Regions from separate parts of the Homo sapiens genome. Here region 2 is linked to region 1. Evidence: promoter capture Hi-C in human tissues and cell types (Jung and others, 2019). All regions are on one chromosome and are shown on one strand. The core of a region is centred on a gene start or on the middle of the fragment in contact, and the rest is flanking DNA. Distances in the headings are between cores, read along the strand shown.

The links. Contacts are between HindIII fragments. The study calls those that stand out against the background at their distance.
Region 2: a contact is called between a fragment that was not itself captured here and the fragment with the promoter of LRRC72 in region 1, in 1 of the 25 tissues and cell types used here (hippocampus).

What each region holds. Positions count from the first base shown.
Region 1 is chr7:16,524,115-16,528,399 of GRCh38, reverse strand. LRRC72 (leucine rich repeat containing 72) reads right to left here and starts at 1,575. Exons shown (of 9, transcript NM_001195280.2): 1 at 1,358-1,575. The coding sequence starts at 1,447. The HindIII fragment of the contact is 16,941 bases long and covers 1-4,285 here.
Region 2 is chr7:16,464,195-16,468,663 of GRCh38, reverse strand. All of the region lies in intron 4 of LOC105375168 (a long non-coding RNA gene), which reads right to left. SOSTDC1 (sclerostin domain containing 1) reads left to right here and starts at 2,926. Exons shown (of 2, transcript NM_015464.3): 1 at 2,926-3,200. The coding sequence starts at 2,996. The HindIII fragment of the contact is 5,680 bases long and covers 1-4,469 here.

The DNA.
Region 1 (4,285 bases), core at 326-2,825:
GAACAGACTGGTCAAGGCGCCCACCAGAAAGCTGCAAGGGTAAATGTGGAACTCATCAGAGATCTCATCAGGGCAGCTGTGCAGATCTGATAAGTCAGTTAACCAGAGGAGAGTGGGATCCAAGGAAGATCACGATGAAGTGTCTACATGGAGAGAAGGGAGAGGGAAACATGATGGAAAGGAGACAGAGGAGGATGATTGTCAAGTGAGGTAGAAGAAGAAAAGGACAGCAGGAGGCAGAGGAGCATTTGAAGAAGGTAGAATTTCAATCTACAACATTGTTTTGGCTGGTGGAGGATGTCACTCAGAAAAGGTACTGAATTTAGAGGCCTGAATTTCAGTAGCTTGAAGAGGGTGAAAAGTCGGATTTTAAATTAGTTGGTTAACCTAAAAGGAGAATAAAAAGAGTCCATCACAAAATTGGGATGTGAACAGTTCTAGCATGGGGAGAACAGCAGCTGCTTCTTCCACCACCCGATGCCTGAGGATCTAGAATCAAAGGGAAAAAAATGTTTGAAAATGGCAGGATTATTAAATCCTAGAAGAATAAGGTCAGTATTAAAACCTATAGAAGAAAATGCCCTCTCTGATGATAAATTCTTATACCTCCATGCAACACGCAGGCACAAGTTAGGACTTAGTGTGAAGAGCTTTCAATTCATTACAGAACTCTCGGCCTCGTTTAATCACAGCAGCCCCCCATCTTTGCAGATGAGTCAGAGAACTCCAGAAAGCCTTGCTAGGTCTTACCTGGCACAATTCTGAGATTTTTTTTTCCCCACCCAAATATCCAAATATTCTTTTAATCATTATCTTAACTGCTCTCGACTCTGCTTGTAGGGCTCATCAAATAACGTTTTCTCTTCAAGGTGTTGATTTGCCCTTGCTGGGAACAATATATTAGGGATACACACCCACACCCACATCCACACACACACACACACCCCTGTTGGAGAATCAAGACTGCGAAATTTACTTAATCTCCGTTTCACTTAATCTGCAAACCACTATAATTATATACGCAGCAGATGCTGAGTGGTAAAAGGTCAGTGTAAGTCTACTGGTGTGGACTGGGAAGTCCTCAAACCCCACCCAGGGGATTAGGACCTCTAGCCCAGGCAGAGATGCTGAGGGGGGTTCGCCACCGCTCGTAGCTGTTCACATCCCAATTTTGTGCTGGATTCTTTGTTCTCCTTTTATGTTAACCAATTAATTTGAAATCTGACCTATCTCCGTCTTCAGGCTACTGAAATTCCCCTCCAAATTCAGTACCTGCCTGGAGTCCTCAGGCAGGAGGTGGGGCCCTGGGGCAGGGGGCCAAAGGGGCTGATGGCTTGGGAAGGCAGGTGCCGCTTACCCGGCGACTGCTCTGTAGGGCAGTTTCGGATGCCCTCCGTAGGCGCCAGCATCGCAAGGTACGGGGCACGGGGTTCGGGTCCCAGGACATCAGGACACATGGGCGGCCGAAGCAGCGGTGATTAATCCGGCCTCGCCCGCCGGTGGCACCGAAGAGAGACTTGGCTTGGTGCACAGCTCGTTGTTCTGTTACCAACAGTTACCGCATTCCCGTTGACTAAAAGCCAGTCCACACTGGGAAATATTTGAAGCCAAACGCTGACTTTTGTGACGTTTGAGCGTGTGGCCCTGCAACACCCACCCTTGTGCCTCGGACACACGCGTGTTACCCCTGCTCATGGTGATGCGTCCGGTGGATGCCGGAGAGCGGGGGTCAGCTATGTCCGGGACCAGGAGGAGGTCAGAGCGCCTCAACGGCAGTCACCCAGTAATCATCACTTTGATTCGAGATATGAATATCAGGAAATTTAGGTTTCTGGAAATTAGACGTGTGTGTGTGTGGACCCCTGGCCTCATGTACGGGCTGGGGGTGAAGAGGTGCGCTGCAGAGTCGCTGTGGATCTTGACGCAAGAGGAAAAAAGACAGTACTACTGATCGTGTCTCTAAAAGTTTGAAATTTTGTTCATTATGCATGTTATTTGCATACATTTTGTTTTTTTTTTTTTAATATTGCATTAAGATATTTATTTTGAGGTCGGGTGCGGTGGCTCAAGCCTGTAATCCCAGTGTTTTGGGAGGCTGAAGCAGGTGGATCACCCAAGGTCAGGAGTTCTAGACCAGCCTGGCCCACATAGAGAAACCCTGTCTCTATTTTAAAAAAACACAAAAATTAGCCGGGCATGGTGGCATGCGCCTGTAATCCCAGCTATTTGGGAGGCTGAAGCAGGAGAATAGTTTGAACCTGGGAGGCAGAGGTTGCAGTGAGACAAGATCCAGCCATTGCACTCCAGCCTGGGTGACAGAAGGACACGCTGTCTCAAAAACAAACAAAAAAAAATATTTATTTTGAATGCTGAGTTTTTGGTGCTTCTTACATCTGGGTCCAAGGCCACTGCCTTACTTGCCTCATCATAGACCCACACCTGGGATGAAGGTGGGGGTGGTAGAATTAAGGCTCCTCAAGAGTCCAGGTGCACAGAAAAATGGAAGGAACTCTCTACTGACTTCATTGGCTAAGAACAAGTACATATTGTTTCAGTAGCTGAGAAATCCTTTCTCTGGCAGAAAATGGACAAATTGAGCCACTATTTGGCCAATCTTTCCAACCTTGTTTTTTGTTTTTGTTTTTTGAAATTTCTGTCTCCTGTAACTGTATTGGAACCTCTAGTATAGATTATCTTGTGACTTTATTTATATGAGGCTTGTTCCCTCTAGCTTGGGTAACTTTGGAGGCAGGATCCTGTTTAAGACATCTCTCTCTTCTGCCAGAGCTTAACGGACTGCGCTTAATTAATGTTGACTGGATTAAACGAGTTGGTTTCTTGGCTCCAAATTTGAACCTGAAATCTAGGAATCAAATGTAGCTTTCTGAAATGGGTCAAGCTACTTGCATTTAAAAAAAAATGCTGGTGTTGAAATGAAGCATTAAAAAATGTCTCAGTGGGGAAATCAAGTACACATTGTTTCAGTAGTTCTAATATGTATTTGGGGCTGAGGTGGGGGTAAAAGCTCTCCAAGTTATTGTGGAGGGATTAATCATCTAAGAACTATTGTTTAAGTAGTTTCTATCCTGGAAATAAAACTCAAATGAGAGAAATGGTCCACTGAGAAGGCATATATAATAATTCATTGGCTCATTTTTGCTGTTGATATGTGTTATAGCATTGCAGATATTATTCACGAATATGCTACATGAAAAAATGGAAATGCACAATACTTGTTCAGTTTTCTACATTACACAAATGTGACTTTATAACCATATGCAAAATAGTTTTAAAGAGCATCTTGCAGATGTAAACTAGTCACCAGTTAATTTCTACTAAAATCACATTAAAAATTTTTATTCTTATTTTTTTAGCATTTTACCCCATATTAAAAAGGTAATTTTGAAAAAAACCTTATTCTTAGGAAAGGAACTCAAAACTCACTTATTATAAGGTCTTAATGTGTTCCTTCTTCAAGAAAAAATTAACTGATCACGAAGGCTAAAATAAAGCAAATTTAATTATGGAATCTCAAGGATGGAGGTTAATGAAGGCACTTTTTGGACAAAAGCTCCTTCCCAGACATTCTCACATTGGTGACATGAAATTTTTACAAAAGAATTACTCCCAGTAGAGTGAGCAGAGAGAACTTTTACCTCCATGGGGTAAGATTATAGCCTGAGGAATCCAGCCTGAAATTTTTAAAATTCATGTAAAATATGCATTCTTCTTTACAATCAATCTTGTTTTAATATAAAAATAAAGCAGTTCCCCAAACTCTCCTCAAATCTTTGTGTAATATTTACATTGAAGCAAGACACCCTGTGTTTATCCTGTGGCTTTACCTCCCTGGCTTGCTGCCATTGCCCGCAGGGGTATGCATATCCCAGTTTGAAAGCTCTATCATATCATGTACATGGATTTGGATAAGAAGAAAGAACCCTCTGCTCCAAGTCAGGGCATGTGGGATTTAGTCTCAGCTCTGACATCAACTAGTTGTTGGCCACCTTCAAATCACTTAATGTCTCTGGGCCTCAGTTTCTTCAACAGTAAAAGCTGGAAGTTCAGTTCAAAAAATTTATTATTTGATTAACTCTCCTAGACAGGTTGTGTGTATTGTTTACAGAGTAAAAGATTCTTGTATTGATATAGAATAAGTTTTTAAGAACAAGTTTTCAGTGAAAAATGTGTGAGAAAAAAATTATGCATGTGATGGCTATCGTTAAAACTACATAATTTAAATAATTCTTTCTAATTTTGTCTTTAATAATTCCAGTTATCAATC
Region 2 (4,469 bases), core at 402-2,901, 60 kb after region 1:
GCAGATAGAGGGAAGAGAGGACAAGGCAAGTTTTCTCAGTGCTATTGCCATCTAAACTGAGACTGGAAGGAAAAGTAGGTGATTAGCCAAGGAAGAGGATGAGGGAAGAGTGTTATAAGCAAAGGGAATAACAGGTACATACTAATGCCTGAAGATGAGAAAGAATCAATTTCAATATTAAACATCTATATCCATTCTTCTTGGGTTATTACAGTTTGTGGTTATCCTTCACTTGATCTGAGCCAAAAGGCCGAGAAGCAATAGTTTGTGGTTATTTTTAATGGAGCTGTTTTAAACTGATCAGAATAACTGTTAAGTATTAAATTTATGATTATTTCTATTTTAGCAAAGTAGTTTTCTTTCTTTTTATTTATTCATTTATTTTGAGACAGGGTCGCACTCTTGCCCAGGCTAGAGTGTTGCGGTGGTATCATGGCTCACTGCAGCCTCAACACCCCAGGCTCAAGCGTTCTTCCTGCCTCAGCCTCCCGAGTAGCTGGGACTACAGGCATGAATCACCATGCTCAGCTAGTTTTTATTTTACTTTTGCAGAGACAAGGTCTTACTATGTTGTCCAGGCTGATCTCGAATTCCTGCGCTCAAGTGATCCTCCTGTCTTGGCCTCTTAGAGTGCACGATTACAGGCAGAAGCCACTGCACCCAGCCTCAAAATAGTTCTCTAGGGGTCTGTCGGGTAAATTGGGCCTAAGAACTCTGAGTTTGTCCTGTCCACATGCACAACGACATTGCCTTCTCTTCTAATTTTGCTTCTGCCTGAGGTGATATCCTAAGGCTGAGCCTTCAGAATACTAGGTGCAGCAGATTTAATAACTGTGCGTGAATTTGGTCAACCTCATTAGCCCAACCCGATAATTAAATTCCAATTAAAATATCTCCTGCTTCTGACACAGAAAAAGAAAAAGTAGTGAGGAACAGATTAGATTATTTTGACCTTTTAATTTCCTTTAGGCATTGGGTCTGTAGGTCAATGATTAATATTAACATGCTTTGTGTAATTAACATCAAGTCCCCTGATAAGTAGGGCAGGAAATTCTTCATAGTTAGTATTTTAGAAGGATGCCTGTAATCTCCATTTGCACAAAATAAACTGACATATGATTTTCCAGGAAGGATGTTAGAATAAATGACTATCCAATCGTAGGATAGAGATATATTGTTAGTAGGAAGTATACGTCCATTAAACTGATTGTCTGACTCTGGTTTTTAAACTTTTTATTATGTAGAATTTGGAACATACACAAGAATAAACAGAATATAATACTTTACCATCCTACTGTAACAACCATCAACTTATAATTAATCTTTTGCCACTCACACCTCTAACCTCCTCATATTATTTTTGAAGCTTATTCTAGCTTATTCCATATAATGTAAAAGATGATATAAAATCATTTCATCTAAGGATATTCCAGTATATACTTCTAATAGAGAAGCAGTCATTGTTTTAAAACAAAACTACGGTACCATTTCTGTCCTAAAAAAGAACAATAATTTCTTGGTATTATAATATTTTTCCTTTATACTTATTTTTACTTTCTTTTATAGTGAGATAGATGAATAGATAATTAGTGGTTAAATTGGGGGTGATTTTACCCTGTAGGGGTCATTTGGCAATGTTTGGAGTTATTTTTGTTACCAACTAGGGGGGTGCTACTGGCGTCTAGTCGTTAGAAGCCAGGGATGCTGATAAACACACAGGATGGTCCCCCAATAATAAAGAACTGTCTCTTCCAAAATGCCAGTAGCGCTGCTATGGAGAAATTCAGGTAGGCAGACATATAGGCAAATGGCAGTTACAAGGGACAAAAGCTTATACAGAAAAGAGATACAAAATTAGGTGATTTAGGTAACCACACAAAGGACAAAAATGGATTTATAATTGAAAAGATGATTCAGAATAGTTATTCCAATTGAGATGTCCCATGATGAAATAGAATTTTATGATTGTTTTAAAGGGATCATCAGTGGCCTATAATTAATTAATGGAACACGTGTTCTGGGTGCCGGTAAAGTAATTCAGAAAAATAGGTTTCTTACTTGGGCAGCAGAGTCAAAGGAAGTAATGAGCAAAATATTTAGTAAATACGAGTAGAATCTGTGTTCTGAAAAAATCTAGAAAAAATTATTTTGAATCCGCTAAAAAGTCTGTCACAAATGGCTTTATGTAAAACAATGCTATGGATATTAATGCTTGTGACACATTTTTAAGACAAAAATGAGTATTACTTACTTTAATGTAGACAGAACTATGCTCATTATTCTCCACACAAAACCCCTGGCAATAATTTACCTAGCAGCACAGTAGTTCTTGTAGATCAAAGCTGCATTATTTAAGCATGTCCAGGGGGCAGGTTTTAGCTCTGTGCCTTTTACTTTAAGGAAAAAAAAATATTGGTTTGCTTCTTGAGAGAAAGCAATGTTTAGCTAACTAGGTGCTTCATGCAAGTCCTGCAATATTTAAACTCACATGAATTCCTCCTGTTATCTGGGAAGAACTCCCTTTCTGACCCAAATACTCTAAAATCTGAGGAAAGTACAGAACAACTGTGGGAAAGCCAGTCTCTTCAAATGAACAGCGATGTATTTTCGTTTAAATTAAACCCGAATGTTAACTAGATTCAGGAAAGGAAATGGCAGAGGAGAGTCTGTCGTTGATATAGAATACGCCTGCCTGCGTCGGCTCACAGACAAGTGATGAAGTCCAACTCTGAAATTTCAGGCAATTTGTATACCAAGCTCCTCCTTTTCTGCAGTCTTCTTTTCCATTGGTAAAATTCTTTTGCAGGGTCATGTAGGGATCCCACCCCTTCTCTGTGTTTTCACTCTGAAGCTCTACACAACTTTACACCTGAATGAACGCCAAACCTCTATGGATATATAAAGGGAAGCTTGAGGAGGAATTTCACAGTTACAGTGCAGAAGCAGAAGCAAAAGAATTAACCAGCTCTTCAGTCAAGCAAATCCTCTACTCACCATGCTTCCTCCTGCCATTCATTTCTATCTCCTTCCCCTTGCATGCATCCTAATGAAAAGCTGTTTGGCTTTTAAAAATGATGCCACAGAAATCCTTTATTCACATGTGGTTAAACCTGTTCCAGCACACCCCAGCAGCAACAGCACGTTGAATCAAGCCAGAAATGGAGGCAGGCATTTCAGTAACACTGGACTGGATCGGAACAGTAAGTGTGTTTTACTTGTACAGTTTTTTTTTTTCTTTTCTGGTAGCATTAGCTCACATTCCTGTAGAATTGTTTTATTGGTAACTAACCTGAACCGTATATATGTTGTGAAACAATTTGGGAGTAATCTGCTGCATGTGCAGGTTGGCATTCTTCCCTAGGTAGTGATTTTAAAGTTAACCTAACTAAAACAGTGGTTTAATAGTGCAAGCACAGACTGAAGTTTTATCAAACATCCACAAAGAAAACATTTCCAGGAATTAAACTATTGTTTTGTCAAAATCATGCAAAATGACCATTTTAAAAAGTATTGTTTTAGATAGCTCAAGTTCCGGTTGTTTTGTCAATTTATTTCAGGGCATATGCAATTTTGGTAAAGTGTATAAACGTAACTAATATATATTATTAGTTACCATCCACAAATAAATATAGGGAATCACAAGGGAAAAAAGGAAGCTTCCAGGAGAAAAAATTTGTTTACATTGGATTTCTAAAATATGTCTAGTGAGATAGTCAAAAGTTTTGATGATGCTCAATGTAAAAGAGGGATAAACTAAAAATGTTGGAGAATCACATTTTTCTAAAATAATTCCTTGTTGTCCCATTCAAAATTTAGATAATTGTGTATTTCTGTGACAGACTGGGGACATTTTTGTAACTTAAGAGATGTAAAACAACAGCTTAGTTGACACACTAATTGACCACTGGTTAGGGGGATTCAAATTACCCCTAACTTTTGTTTCTATCTTTTCCTTTAGAAGAGGCCATATGCTAATAATCAGGTTTTAAGAGAGAGAGAGAGAGAGAGAGAAACACTGCGCAGGAAATCTTACACAAATCTTTTGCCTCTCCTTCTTCACTCCATTCAACTACGAAAAGTAGTTTTGACTTTTGAAAAGTCAAAGCAAATTTGACTGTTAATGTCTAAGAAAGCTAGGATGTTTTAACTTTCACGAAGCTGGTTGCTTTTAAGTACACAGGACATATCTGATTATTATTAGATTACTGAGCAATGTGGTGGGTATTCGTTGTCAATGAACTGTCACTGCAAAAATGCCAAATCTGTATATACACAGGAACAGAAAGCTTGACGAGACAAAATTATTTCTGGCTATTTCCAGGTGCATTCCTGAGGCAGCTGCAGGAAGGTGAGCTGGAGGCAGAATCAGGCACGCTGAGCACACTGTCCAACCAAACAATTTACGCTTTACATTTTAATCCCACAATTCTAGATTTCTATGCATGCATGTCTATATACATAAGTTTTTC